Regions from separate parts of the Homo sapiens genome. Here all the other regions are linked to region 1. The links are contacts of gene promoters, found by promoter capture Hi-C in blood cells and fetal thymus (Javierre and others, 2016). All regions are on one chromosome and are shown on one strand. The core of a region is centred on a gene start or on the middle of the fragment in contact, and the rest is flanking DNA. Distances in the headings are between cores, read along the strand shown.

What was found. The method cuts DNA at HindIII sites, captures the fragments that hold promoters and counts their contacts. A CHiCAGO score of 5 or more calls a contact.
Region 2: a fragment that was not itself captured here is called in contact with the fragment with the promoter of SKIDA1 in region 1 in 1 of 17 cell types (non-activated CD4 T cells); the score reaches 5.5 in non-activated CD4 T cells.
Region 3: a fragment that was not itself captured here is called in contact with the fragment with the promoter of SKIDA1 in region 1 in 1 of 17 cell types (total B cells); the score reaches 6.4 in total B cells.
Region 4: a contact is called between a fragment that was not itself captured here and the fragment with the promoter of SKIDA1 in region 1, in 1 of 17 cell types (naive B cells). The highest score is 6.4, in naive B cells.

What each region holds. Positions count from the first base shown.
Region 1 is chr10:21,524,114-21,527,729 of GRCh38, forward strand. SKIDA1 (SKI/DACH domain containing 1) reads right to left here and starts at 1,569. Exons shown (of 4, transcript NM_207371.4): 1 at 1,434-1,569. RefSeq lists enhancers at 961-1,604, 1,605-2,248 and silencers at 1,904-2,323, 2,444-2,593, 3,039-3,158, 3,169-3,488, 3,348-3,506. The HindIII fragment of the contact is 4,259 bases long and covers 773-3,616 here.
Region 2 is chr10:22,621,540-22,625,155 of GRCh38, forward strand. The region is part of intron 1 of PIP4K2A (phosphatidylinositol-5-phosphate 4-kinase type 2 alpha); the gene reads right to left. Among named protein-coding and RNA genes, the nearest start is that of PIP4K2A, 91 kb to the right of the region's middle. RefSeq lists an enhancer at 2,087-2,587. The HindIII fragment of the contact is 1,615 bases long and covers 847-2,461 here.
Region 3 is chr10:22,594,029-22,597,644 of GRCh38, forward strand. All of the region lies in intron 3 of PIP4K2A (phosphatidylinositol-5-phosphate 4-kinase type 2 alpha), which reads right to left. Among named protein-coding and RNA genes, the nearest start is that of PIP4K2A, 120 kb to the right of the region's middle. The HindIII fragment of the contact is 548 bases long and covers 1,276-1,823 here.
Region 4 is chr10:22,568,947-22,572,562 of GRCh38, forward strand. All of the region lies in intron 5 of PIP4K2A (phosphatidylinositol-5-phosphate 4-kinase type 2 alpha), which reads right to left. Among named protein-coding and RNA genes, the nearest start is that of LINC03027, 130 kb to the left of the region's middle. The HindIII fragment of the contact is 1,931 bases long and covers 792-2,722 here.

The sequences.
Region 1 (3,616 bases), core at 319-2,818:
AAGCTTACTTTTCACTTCTGAGGCCAATTTTTACACTAATAAATTTCAAGTAAACGTCTCTTTTAAAGTTGTTCCACAACATTTTAATTCAAACTTCTATTTCCTTTCTCAGTTGGGGTAGTGTTTTGTTTGTGTTTTAAAAAAACACATGGCACAACAAACGTTATGGAAAACGCACTCATTCCGTTAAATGCCGATACAAACCTGCCTTTTACTACATCTGTCTAAGCAGCGCATTGCTAAGTATAAACTTAAAAAAATTTTTTTTTCTCAAAGACATATCTATTATTTCTTGGCAAATACTATTTGGTGATGTGGTGCAAAAACACAATGGTAAAAAATTTCGGGGTATTTGTAAGTTTTCTGGAGAGTTGCAGGCCCCTTTCCTTTTGAAAGTTTAGAGCTCCAATACCCTCAATTCTACTGGCAGAATTAGGATGGACTTAGAGGGTCCTAAACGTGACCGATTCACTAAGGCGGGGGGGGGGGGGGGCTACAGCTTGCAGCAACGTGCTCTGCAACTTAATCCTACGCTAAAAGAGGGCAGAGAGCGAAAAAGAATGGAATACAAACTCTCCCGACATCCGTAGTTACTTTCAAGGTGGATTGTGTATTTTAAGGCTGATGGGAACGTCTGGTTTGTGGAGCAAAAAGAAGAGAAGGTAAGTGTTTGTCCTTGTATCCACCAGTTCGTAGAGAAACAATGAAAGAACAAAGGGAACCACTTCCCCATCTGAACATTTTCTGTATCTCCCTCCGTTTCAAGCCAAAAAGCTTGGGAAGGGATTCGCTTTACTCTACCTTAAGTAGTGGTTGCTGGCTTGTTGAACTAAGAATGAGAAAAAAGTTGAGAGGCAGATATAGACTAAATAATAATAAAAAAGGCTTGCTGTGGCGGATCTCCACCGCGCCAGTGTCAGCAACTTGCAGCAGAAGTTGCTCAATGCACGGAGGCAAAGCCCAAGAAATACCCTTTGCACACCAGATTTCGAACTCAGTCATTTAAATAGACTTTCTTGCTGTTTGAAGGGGTTTCTGCGCACAAAATGTGTAGGTAGTGGCTATGGGAGAGATGTACTATTTAGGTCGAAAAATGATCTCATGGCTATCTGGAAAAGAATTTTTAAAAAGGAAAGGGGATTCAAGTATCACGTTACTGTTTGCTAATAGAAGAAATGGCAGCACTGGCTGGGAAAGGAGAGGGATTCGTATTGAAATGCATTTGCTTTGGGGTACGCTGGTTATCCGCAAGTCTGGCTTTGTGGGTCTGCGTGGCTGAATAAGTGACCAAGTGCCTTCGGCATTATATAAACGGATCGATGTGTGCGGGAGTCCCCAAAGCCGTCGAGCACGTGAAACGCGACTTTTTACTGCCCTCCAAGCGGCGACCAAGCCCCGCTCCACCCCACCCCGCCTCAAAATCCGTATATTACCTGCCCTGTTACAGTGACACATGTTTATGTTTATAGTCCTGGTTTGTAGTAGTGTCAAGAACCGCAGCAAGAGGAAGGGGAGGAGAGAGGAGAGGGAGGAGTAAATTCAACCACCCCCACTTGTTGTTAAAGCAAATTTACTGCGTTATTGCAAGCTCAGGACGGGGGGCTGGGATGAGAGTTGAGAGGAAGGGTTGAGTTGGGAAGTGTGTTGGCGGTGGAAGGTGGGGGTGGGGTTAAGAGCTCCGCAATGGAGCTCCTCTCCCCAGCAGCCCAGGAAAAGCAGCTCGGTCAATAGGGGAGCATGCTGGCGCGGTCGAAAACAAAAAGGTTCCTCCTGCTCGCTGCGTTCACGTGGGGGGCTCTGCACGCGGGGCTCCAGGGCCGTGACCCCTGACCCCGGCTCCTCTCCGCGCTCTCCGGTGCCGCGCGGCCACTTTTTACCCAGGATCCCTCGCGCGGGCCGCGCTCGTGCCGAGCTGGAGTCCTTCCTAATCCTCCATTCCCGGCTCTCGCTCCCCGCCCCCGCCGCCAGCCCCGGGGGAGGATTCTCCGGCGGGGAACCCCCGCCCCACCCCCACCCCGACTGCCCCGGCGGAGTCGGCCGCAGCGAGTCCGCGCGGGGCGGGGAGGGCCGGGCCGGGCCTCCCCTACCGCGCCGGGCCTGCGAGGGAGGGGAGGGACGGGGAGCCGAGGGGAGGGGGCGCCGGCCTCCCGGCTCAGCTGCCCCACTGAGGCCTGGACCTGTTGACTGCGATTGGCCCGCCTCATCCCGCGCCCTCTCTCTGCTCGCAGCGGCCCCAGCCCTTCCGCGGCGTCGCGGGGAGGAAATGGGGATGGCTGTCCTCCTCTCCGCCTCCTTCTAACTTTCCTTTTTTTATTTGGGTGTGTTGGGGGGGGTGCTGAGAAAGCCCAGGCAACTCCACCGCCGCCCCATCCTGCCTCCGAAAGTCTCGTCACGCCCGACCCGCCGCCGCCCTCCCAGCCCCCATGACTTAAAACCGCCTCCCCTCCTCGCAGCGGCGCCCCGGCCCGGAGCCCGAGAGCCCTCGACGCCCCCGCCGCGCCTCCCCCGCCTGGCCTGGCCCAGCGGCGTCCCCAGCGAATTGTGTCGCTTTTCTGCCCTGGAAGCTCCCTCGGCCACGTTCCACTTTTTTTCCCAGTCCCAGGAGGCGTAAGATAAAACCTCTGATTTGCTGCGTGCTGCCGGGCACATTCTCTGCCCTCTCGTCCGAAGGACGAGTTTAAAATGGAGAGTTTAAAATAATAGCATTTACAGGAGGAAATAAAGAGCGAGGAGATGGTTCTTTGGCCGGTTTTAAGACATACATGCTTTTTTTTTCTTTTAATACAAGATGTCTTAAGGGTTAAAAGCGTTCTAGGGTTTGCTGTATTTCCTTCTAGATTTGGGGTTTCCTGAGGAAATCTTTTCCGGAGGGAAATAGCAAATCAACATTAAGATGGAAGCGAGACTTCTCAGCCACTTTTGGAAATGAAGGGGGAAATTGTAAAAATACATTCAGAAAAGGGCGCGAAGGCGGCGGCTGAGGGGAAGAAGCTGGAGTCTTGGGAGGAAGCGCAGTGGGTTGGAATCGGGGGAAGGAGGGCCCGCTAGGTCCGGGCGGGGAAGAAGGCGTGCGGGCGGCGGGGCGTGCGCCGGGCCGGGCAGCTGGAGGAAGGCGCGGCGGGACTGGCGAGCGCGAAGAGGCAGGCGGGGAAGGCCTCGGGGGGCGGGGGCCGGGCGCGGGGCCGGCGCGCCGGAGGAAGCGGGACCTGGCTCCTCGCGCCCGCCGGGCCGCCCCCATTGTTCTGCCCTAGCACCGCTGTTAGCCGAGCACGTCCTGACCGAGGGAGGGGCCCCGCGGGCCAACCCGACCCCCGTCGGCGCCTCCCCGGGCTCCTGAGCTCCGGCCGGGTCGGGTCGGGCCGGCGCGGCAAGTTTTGATGGTCAGACTCAGCCAGCGAGGGGTTCCCAGCTGAAGACCTCGGAGGAAGGAGCCTTTACAGCGTGCTGCGAAATTGAAGGAAGCCGGGCGAGCCTGCAACGCACACGTTATGAGAAAAAGGGAAAGCAACATAGATATGTTTATAAAGTGATAAATAGATAAGAGACACCCGTGGGCAGTTATTATTCTGGATCCGGAAAGTTACAGTAGATTATATAATATTTGAAATATCTTGAA
Region 2 (3,616 bases), core at 404-2,903, 1.1 Mb after region 1:
TGATACCAAGCTGGCCAGAAGCCCTAAATCTCATACCTAAATCTGGCTAGCCATGGAGAAGATGGGGAGGAGTTTGGTATGTAATACAGGTGTCCCTGGGTACCCCAGATAACCACATCTACTGAAAAAGTAAGCAGTGAGTGACAGCTGTGCATTCAGAAAATCAATCACTGAAACACATCATTAATAAAACCTGTAAGACAATGGAGAAGGGGATGGCATGTACAGTTCAGCATTTTGAACTGAGATGTGTTCAGCAGACTTCACAGTTGGGACCTTCGTTAAGATTCCAGAAGGAAGCAATGAAATCCTAATTCTGTTACACCAGAACTTTTGTTTTTCTTTCCATGACCACAACAGAGGGGCCGCCTGCTTTCCTGCCCAGCATCCATCCTGAAAGAACAATGAGAGGAAGGGTACCATGCTGCCATTTACACTGCTTTCCCGGATTCCCATTTTAAGAGATGACCTGACCATGCATTTTTATCTCTTTTCCTTCCAGAAGCTCTGCTAAGATGACAGTAAAGGAAGTTAGAGATTGGGGGAAAATCAAAAACACCACCACCAAACATGACAAGAACATTGGAGAGCAGACAATAGAAAACGAGAAATGTCAAAGAATTTTTTAAAGACAGAAAAGTAGTAGAGGATTGTTAGCAGACAGAAGAGGAGACAAAGCTGCTACCTCTGTGCCGGTGGCCACTCAATGCCATGTGCTCCCAGATGCTGAGGGGCTCCACAGCTGGGGTTCAGGTGGCAGAAAGACGGTGCGCTGCCTGTTGCTGTCCATGCCATCCCATCGCATGAGAGGCACAGGACTGATTCCTCAGAAACCCCAGCCCAAGAAGCTTCGGGCACGGGAAGACCCAGCTCACACAGGGCTGGGCTGGGCGTCACGGAGCACGGGAGGAGCCAGTTACCATCTGTGCTCTGAGGCCTGGGCCCTCTGCCGCTGTCCCCTGCTCTGCTGCAATCGCACCTTTGGCCTGGGTCACTCCCCGAGGGGACACTGGAGGATTCCCATTCTGGCGGAAAGGCCCTAGAAATATTAATAATTCCGCCAGTGGGCGGCAGCACAAAGGCTGGCCTCTTCCCCACTGTCAGTGGACGGGCACCGCCACTCCACATACCCGGGACAAGTCGTCTGTCTTCCAGCACCTCGTTCTAAAACCTGACTGGAGAGCAACAAACCACCGGACATGGGAGGAAAGCCTTTAGCATGAAGGAGACTATAACAAATCTATAATTTTTTTCTCAATGCTATTTAACATCATGCAATACTAAATCGCCAAATTTAGTACTTCACAAAGTACTAAAAATAACTGAGTCACAGTAAGGTGAATGCTATTATTTTACCAAAAAAAGTATGCATTATTTCAAAAAAAAGAAGGATGAGGGGAGAAAAGAGATGGTGTGAGAGAGCCAGCATCATCTGCCTTGGCAGAAACTCAAAAGAAAATGCCTAACATGACAAATTCATAAATAATGGCACAAGCATATTACCTAGCAAACACCGGGGCAAATAATTATGTATAGCTGTGTAAACCAACATGGAACATTCTCTAAGAAATAGTGCAGAGTGAGAAAAGCGAGATAGAGATGCGTTTAATGTGCTACCATTGACTTTTTTTTTAAAAAAAAAGGTTACACATTCATGTGTTTGTCTATGAAACTCACTGAGAAAGCACAAAAAAAGCACAAAGATCAAGTTTAGGTGTCTGGGGTCGGGGGTGAAGCTCACCTGTAATGGTGAGCTTCCGTACTGTTTAAATTCTTGATCACTTGTTATTTTCATAGTAATGATGGAGAGAAAAACCAAAGTGCTCACGAAGGAAGCGTCTAACTCAGGGGCAGACCGCAGCTCTAAGGCAAGGGTCGCAAGGGTCTTCCACAAGGGCGGTGTGCTCCTCGGGGAGAAGACAGCAGAGCTTCTCTATGTACATTATACTAAAAGGCTGCCTTTACACAGCTTGTCTGACGAATGCCCTCCTCAGTCCAATGTGAGCGTCATGAGCTGTATATTGGAAGGGAGGTACCCCCAGGAACAGTAGGAGCTTAGAGGTTGGCGGTTGGCAGGGGACGTCCGTGCACTGCTCAGGTCCAGTGCATTGCAACCAATTGTAGGTTACATGTGCCCAGTTAAGTGGATTTGCAGATCATACCATCTGGCTTTAACTAAGCTAAAGCAACGCTCACAAAACAGGTAAGTGCTTAAGAGGATGCCTGAAAAACAACCACATGGGCTGAAGCTAATGTTAAACACACAGGACCAATCAACAAGAAGCCACGTGGCAGGCCTAAGACTGAGCCCTGAGCTCCCAGGGTTCTCGCTATCAGTCACATGATGAGGTCAAAGCACTGATGATTTCATCAGATATGAAAAGAATAGTTCACAACAATTAAAATGACTGGGAAGACTTTATTTAAAATGTGGGCTTCCATTCATTTTTGTTCATGATAAAGCTTCCCTAAGTGTACACTGTGCCTAGAGATACCAGCTAATGATACTCCAGAGCTATCAAAATGCGCAAGTCATTTAAAATCTAAGCACTCAGGACCTGAAGACAAACAACTCTAGTTTTCTTCACTATGTTTAACATTGGGCAGTACTACACTACAAATTCAGTACTTCACAAAATTTTATTAATTTAATGATTAACATGTAGAAGCTTCTTTCTGGGTTCCTCTGCTAGGAAAAGACTAAAAACCACATATTACTGGAGAAGCACTTGCTATTTCTACCAAGGCAAAAATGGCTTAAAGCATGTAAAAACCAATATGGCATCAAATTTGAATGAATTCCTTTGTCAGCAAATACTGCGGGCAGAGGCATAGAAACACCAGTCAATATTTGAAGACTCAAGGATTAGAATAAATTACACAGCCTATGAAGTTTGCTTTAGAATTGCATCAAAGTAAAGATGATTCTAACATTTCTCTGCTTCGGGTATTTGCTAACTTATTTCCTGTATTCAAAGAACTACTGTGTATGGTTGAGAGGGAAGAAGAATGCAAGCACTTTAAAAAAAAGTTGTGGAATTTAGGAGATGAGTCATGCACTTTTCCCTTATAAAACATGTGTTCCAAATTCATGGACCTTTGCAGGGGTCAGAGGTGCTTCTCAGTAGTATGTTACCTAGCAGGGGGAAAAAAAAATCAGCACACTTTACGCTTCCTTTCAAAGTAAAGGTGAGACTCAACATTGAGTAAGAAATTAACTGCTTTTCAAGAGAAACCAAAGCTTTGAAAGAGTATTATACAAACAGATGTTTGAAAATATTTCCACTGTTTTGTTATCTTTTTGCCAAAAACAATGAAACTGTGTCACCTATGAAAACTTTTATATCAGCACACTTAGTAACTTGGAAATAGAATATTCTAGTGTATTAGAAATCTTGCCAGAGAGTTTCAAACCCATTTGTTAATGGTTTTTGAATCTATTTGTTAAAAGTTTAAAAACACAATAAACTTCCAATAAGTTTCAGAATAAAATTTTATCATCTGAAAGTCAACTAAAAACCTTTGTATAACTGGCGAGATGTGTTGAGAAAAGGAGCATAATAATTTCGTATGATTTAGTAAAAATGGCCAGTGATACAGTTCTTCCACTTGTATT
Region 3 (3,616 bases), core at 300-2,799, 1.1 Mb after region 1:
AGCAACTGAATCACCCAGGGATCATGTGAAAATGCAGATTCTGATCCAGCAGGTCAGGGGTGGGGCATTTTCAGAAGTAGATGCTGCTGCTGGAGTGGGTCTGCAGACCACACATGAGAACCAAGGTCTACAGAATGGTGTTTACCCTGTGTTTTACTGGCATGCAGCACGTAAAGTCTAGCGTATTAAGTACATTATAATTACAGACTTACCGGCACTCATGCCTTTCCCATTATATTCTCTACACCTCTAGTTCGATTAAAATGGGAAACTTTATAGTTCAGAATAATAATTCATGGCATTTACTTTACTAATTAAAGAAGGGTTTAATAATACTATGTACCAGTACCAGGACAATGTACAGGGTTTTTTATTTTTATTTTTTGAGACAGGTTCTCACTGTGTTGCCCAGGCTGGAGTACAGTGGTGCGATCTTGGCTCACTGCAGCCTTGATCTCCTGGACTCAAGTGATTCTCGTGCCTCTGCCTCCTGAGTAGCTGGGATTATAGGCATGTGCCACCATGCCCAGCTAATTTTTTTATTTTTAATAGAGACAGGGTTTTGCCATTCTGGCCAGGGTGATCTCGAACTCCTGGCCTCAAGTGATCTATCTGCCTGCCTTGGCCTCCCAAAGTGCTGGGATTACAGGCATGAGCCACCATGCCCAGCGCAACATATGGGTTTATAAAGGGCTGGAAACGTAAAAGCAAATAATGTAGGAACTCCTTAGCTCAGATACTACCTCTTCCCCAGTTTGTGCCTTTTCTTTCAATTTCAAAGGCATTACTATAATCATATATGCAGACACTGGATTAGGATATCAGCCATGTCTTCACCCTGGGATATAAAACCTTAAAAATTCGAATCTTGATTCTGTCTCAAATCACCATTTTAATAATCCACGTGAGTAGCCCCAACCCACACTATCTGAATATTTTTAAGGTTCATGAACATGAAATAACCAATGAAGTTAGGAACACTGTGTCAAAACATAGAATGTACCTTTCATATCACTATGAATATAAAAATACATAAATCAAGTGTATTAAAAGCCTTATCTGATAAGGAGGAAATCAAAAGAGTTCATGCAATTCTATACAAAACACCTGATCCTTGGAATGATTCTAAGGCCTGGAAAAATCCAACTCATTATTTCATATTTATTTTCACAATATTCCTGTGAGAGAGGAAAAGCTAGATCCATTTTTCCCACCTCAAGATAAAGAAACTAGTGTACAATGGAGCCAAGCAATGTGCCTAAGATTCCTGTCTAAAGCTTTCTATGAACTAACCAAAAAGGGCGATTTACAAAGATAAGACTAAACTTCTGTCATCATAATCATAGACTTTTTGTAGCCTTTAAAATAAAGTAAAATTGTTTATGTATTTTTATTATCATTTACTTTCTTGCCTTCTTCCAAGGCATGCAGCAGACATGTGTTTTTAAAGGCAGCACAGTGGCTCATGCCTGTAGTCTCAGCGCTTTGGGGGCTGAGGTGGGCGGATCACTTGAGGCCAGGAGTTCGAGACCAGCCTGGGCAACGTGGTGAAACCCGGTCTCCACTAAAAATACAAAAATCAGCCAGGTGTGGTGGTGCATGCCTGTAATTCCAGCTACTTGGGAGGCTGAGGCACGAGAATTGTTTGAACCTGGGAGGCAGAGATTGCAATGAGCCGAGATCACACCACCGCACTCCAACCTGAGCAGCACAGGGTAATGGTGAGGGCACTGGTCTGAGATCTAGAACATTCATCAGTTCTTGTAGATTGCATTTAGTCTCTTTGAGCCTTAGTTTCCGGGTCTATGAAGTGATGGAAAATAAGCTTGGGGAGAGAACAGGCTGAATTAGACCTCTACCTTGGATCTTTTATGACTCTAAAAATGGATTTACTCAGCCGGGCGCAGTGGGGCACGCCTGTAATCCCAGCACTTTGGGAGGCCAAGGCGGGCAGATCACCTGAGGCTGGGAGTTCGAGACTAGCCTGACCAACATGGAGAAGCCCCGTCTCTACTAAAAATACAAAATTATGCAGGCGTGGTGGGGCATGCCTGTAATCCCAGCTACTCGGGAGGCTGAGGCAGGAGAATCGCTTGAACCTGGGAGGCGGAGGCTGCAGTGAGCTGAGATTGTGCCATTGCACTCCAGCCTGGGCAACAAGAGCAAAACTCCGTCTCAAAAAAAAAAAAAAAAAAAAGGATTTACTCGAAGACTCGACTCGTTGCTCTAGGAAATGCTGTAAAGCATGGGCCTCGGAAGGTGACTCAGGACAACCGTCCCAAGAAACAGAGTCCGATCAGAAGACAGTACAACCATCATCTCAGCAGGGGCCTAATGATGGTTTAGGACACCTGGGCTGAGATGAAAGAGAACATGCAGTGAAAATAACACTTCACAGATTCCAGATGTATTCAGGACAACGTCAGCTAGAACGAGCACATGAGCTCAGGGAAGGAGGTCTTATATCTTCAACACAGTCACTGTGCTGCCTCAAAACAGTCTATCTACTGACACTGAATAAGAAACTCCTCAGTGTGCTTTGTTTTGTTGCAAAGGAAAAAGGAATCACAGCATGATGTTGGATGCTTGGACAAGTTGGGAGGCCCTTGATGGAAACAGAGCTTGGGAGTGACCTTCAGGTGCCCCCGAGGGGTCCCTCCATGTATAAATAAACCTCAAAGAGCATTAGAGTTGGAAGCAACCTTGGAGATGATTCCAAACCACTCAATATACAGATAAGAAAACAGACCCAGAGAGCAGAAATGACTTGCCCAACTCAGTTCTCCAACATCAGGTGGGCTGGTGTACATGGAGGGCCCTGCAGGGGCCCTGCCCAGAGCCTCCATCTCCCCCTGCCGTGCTGCTTCCCTGCCTGGGCTCCAGAGTATGGTGGGCATTATGAAGGGACAGTCATTTTTCTATAGTGACATACACCTTCTAATGCCAATTTAGAGTGTGAGCCAGCTGGCACAAAACCAAACCTGTCTTCAGGTTTTCGATTTTGCCAAGTAAAGTGTGTAGAAAATATCAGTAACAGCCACAGTGCTAATGCAGTCCGGAGTCTGTTATTTACACTTTTATTAACATGTGTACAAAGCTATCTGAACTCATTCTAGGACTGTTCATTACTTTACATTAACTGAGTAGGAAGAGTAGGAGCTGTCTTCTCTCCACGCAGGAGCTGAGACAGATGTGTTTGTGGAATAAGCCTTTGGGACAGGAAGACCGTGCTGCTGAGCCCTGGGCCCAGAGTCAGGCACTCACACAGCGTAACACAGGGCTGAAGGAGGACCAGCACTTAGCATTTCCTGTGAGTCCTGTTGACTGTGGTGACGATGTCAACCCTAAGAATTCTTCACATTTCTGACCATGTGGCACACTGCATCATGTCTATTTAAATTAGTTTATGTGGTCTGAGAATTGTCGGAGGTTCTTGTTTTCCTCCTGTCACTGGTTTCTGCCTTTAGAAGACTGTCCCATCCACTTTCTCTGCTTACAACTCCACAGATTTTCTTCACAAAGAATGCCAAAGTTGAAAGGAGCAATCTTTTATACTGGGAGTGCTGAATTCTGGGTTACTCTATATTCTATATGCACTCTCTATACTACTAAGCTG
Region 4 (3,616 bases), core at 507-3,006, 1.0 Mb after region 1:
CCACCTGATGAAAAGACATCTATTGCCCTGGGTTACTTGAGTTAGCCATTCATTAAATGAACTTACAGTTGGCTTGGGAAAAGTGAAAGTGGCTTTTAGATTGGCCATCTGCAAAGAAATCAAAATTTTTGATTACTGGCTTTCATCGAGCAGCTCAGGCATTGACTAGGATTGAGCTTCCTGCAATTCACAGATGCGGAAACTTGAACGGAAGAGACTCCTCACATTGGGGAAGGGAGCCAAGACCAGGCTGGGGGGGTCTCCCCAGGGCCGATCTTCCATCCCCCTGGTGCTCAGTGCCCCCAGGACTGGAAGATCCGAGGGACGCTGCTGCTGGCCCAGGGAAAATGTTCAATGTTTCTCAGGGCGATTCAGAGCAGCCCAAAGCTGACCCATCAGATGGAGACAGATAATGTGAACCATTCATGAAGGCAAACCTGAGAACCCATTCTACGACCACAGTCCGAGCCCCTCTGCACAGCCATGCCCAGCAACTGTTACTTGCCATGGTCTACTTTCCTTCCTTTAGGGATTCCTGAATATGGACCAGAAGTACCTTCCTTTACACACTGATTTTTCACAACGAATGTTCCCAAATACTTTTTAAAAATGGGACATTTGTAATACTTGAGCACTGCCTATGATGCTGGGAACAGGAAGAAACTATTCTACTTTGAATTCTTAACCAAGTTCTTGGGGTGTGTGTGTCTGTGTGTGTGTGTGTCTGTCTGTGTCTGTGTGTGTGTTTCCTCTCCTACAATATAATCCACCCTGCTTCTGATTCTCAGGGAAGCTTCATCTGTATGCAAATGCTGATCATTAGCTTGGGAACAACAAAACACAAAACTCATCCAAGTTTAAATTAATTCACAATAAAAAATTATTAAAAAAAATAGAAAAGGAAGGCCAAGAGTTTAAGCCATGAAACAATGCCAGATGTACAGGTTCCATCACAACTGAGAGCACTGGCAAGAACAGAGTTTATCTATGCCACAAGCCAGAAAGGGAGATGAAACTGTGAAAAAAGCAAGGCAAATTAAAACTAGAATATCCAATCTCTAAGTATAATTTACTCCAAGATATGTTTACCAGATGCCTACTTGTCCGAGGCGCTATCTTAGGCATTGCAGGGGGATTAAAAAAAAAAAAGTTAAGTAGAAGAACATACTTGCCCTTGAGGCACTTACACATCAGGAGAATGAATGAGGCAACCAAGATTCATTAACTCCCATATGCCATGCCTCACGCTGGACACAATACATATGTATCTTATTTAATTCTCAAAACATCCCTGCAAATGTAGGTAAAATTATCCCTATTTTAACAGATGAAGAGACGGAGGGTCATAGAGGTTCAGCAACTTACACAAGGTTAACAAGTCATAAAAGAACAACATGTGACTTTAGAGGTCACTCTGGCTTTCTTCCCTGGGGAAGTCAGACAGAGTCCTGTGTGCTCTGAGCAGTACCGCCAAGGCTTCACGAAAAGAGCTGGTGCTGGCAAGGGCCCTGGAGGATGGCTGGGATTTCCCCAGGGGCAATTCCAGGGGCACAAAATGGCTTGCTTGGGCGAAGACTTTAAGACAGGACAGGACAAGGGTGTATTTGGGAAGTGGATCCAGTGTGTGGGGACTTCAGAGGTTAGGAGACAAGCCCAGACCATTTCCTTCACTTAGACTAGCATTTCTCTAAGCATGGTTCAGAACCCTGGGGTCCCAAGACCAAAACTATACAAAGCCAAAACTATTTTTATAATAATACTGAGAAATTATTTGCCTTTTTCAGCGTCTTGATATTTGTATAAATAATGCAAAAACAATGGTGGGAAGAACTGCTAGCAGTTTAGCATAAGTCAAACAGTGGCAACAGTGGGTATTAGTAGTGTTTGTGATTTAAAAAAAAAAAACAATGAAAAAAACCAGCACCATCTAAGAAACCCAGCGTCATTTCAGAAACCTCTGAAGCCACACATCCTGGTTTTTGTGACTTGTGAGCTGTGTACGAGTTGCTGAACTTCTGGCTAAGATGGTGTGTCATACAAGTAGGCATCTAGTAAACACATGAAAGCATAACATTAAATGTATCAAATCTAGACCCAGGAGTACACGTCTTTTCAATATTCTGTGCAGGAAATATACATAAAGCACTTCTGTTTATAAAGAAGGAATGATTTCTTAAGAACTGTTTTCGTGACGGTTTGAGTTATGAGTTGAACTGGCCATCTTTTTCATGAAACAACACTTTTACTTGAAAGAACAACTGACAGTCTATGTTTATTTAGATCTGGGCATGTGACTGATGTTTGCTACAAAATGAATGAAGCTGCTAGGCTCCCCTGTATGCTGGGGTGCTTGCTACATGTGGTCATTTCACAGAAAACAACTGACAGGGCTTGTGGCCAGTGATAAAATTTGAGATTCCAAGTAAAAAACTGATTTTTAAAAAACTTATATCCACCATCCTGGGCCTGACCGCTTCCCAATATGTAAAAGACTTTTCTGATGACATTGGTGGTAACACTGTTATGACTTTTTGATACTGTATAATGAAATGTGTCAATATTTGGAAGAGTCAAATAACTCAGTGAACCAATGTGTTCCAAATGGCAAGTGCATGCCTTGGCAAAATCACACATTCAAACAATGCATGCAAACCAATCAATGGATTTCGATGAAGAGTACAAAAAGTTCATTGATATGATTTCAGATTTCATAATGTAACTAAGCTTTGAGAAATTACCTCTTGTCAAGCTTTGGTGTAGTATCAAAGAAGAATATCTACAATTATCCAAAAAAGTTGTTAAAACATGCTTTAACAACTTTCCAAACTTCATTATTGTGTGAGTTCAGATTTTCTTCACATACTTCAGCGGCATAACACCACACAGACTGACAGCGGAATCAGACAGGACATTCCAACTATCTCACATTAAGTCAAGACATTACGGAGATTTGCAAAAATGTAAAACAATGCTACTTGTCTCATTCATGTTTTTGCTTTTGGAAAATAGTTATTTTTCATAAAAATGTTAACATGTAATGTTTTTCTCATTTTTAAAGAAACTACATATTCTAATATTTCTTATATTAATTTTTAATACTGTAAATATCCACAGACACAACTCACATCTGCAAAAGCTTTCGAGTGTCCTCTTGTAAGAGCGTGAAAGCGTTGAGACCAAAAAACTTGAGAACCAAATGTCAGAGACCAGAGTTTGGCAAACTTTTCTGCAAACAGTCAGTGGGTAAACGTTTTAGGCTTTGTGGTCCCAAATGGTCTCTGCGGTAACTACCAAACTCTGCCATTACAGTGCAAAAGCAGTAACAGACAATACAGAAACAAGGGGCATCGTGGTATTCCAATAAAAATGTATTTATAAAATTGGCCCAGCCAGCCGCGGTGGTTCATGCCTATAATCCCAGCACTTTGGAAGGCCAAGGTGGGTGGATTGCTTGAGCTCAGGAGTTCAAGATCAGCCTGGGCAACATGGTGAAATCCTGTCTCCACCAAAAAATACAAAAAATTAGCTGAGCATGGTGGTGCGTGCCTGTGGTCCCAGCTACGTGGGAGGACTGCTTGAGCCAGTGGGGCAGAGGTTGCCATGAGCCAAGATTGAG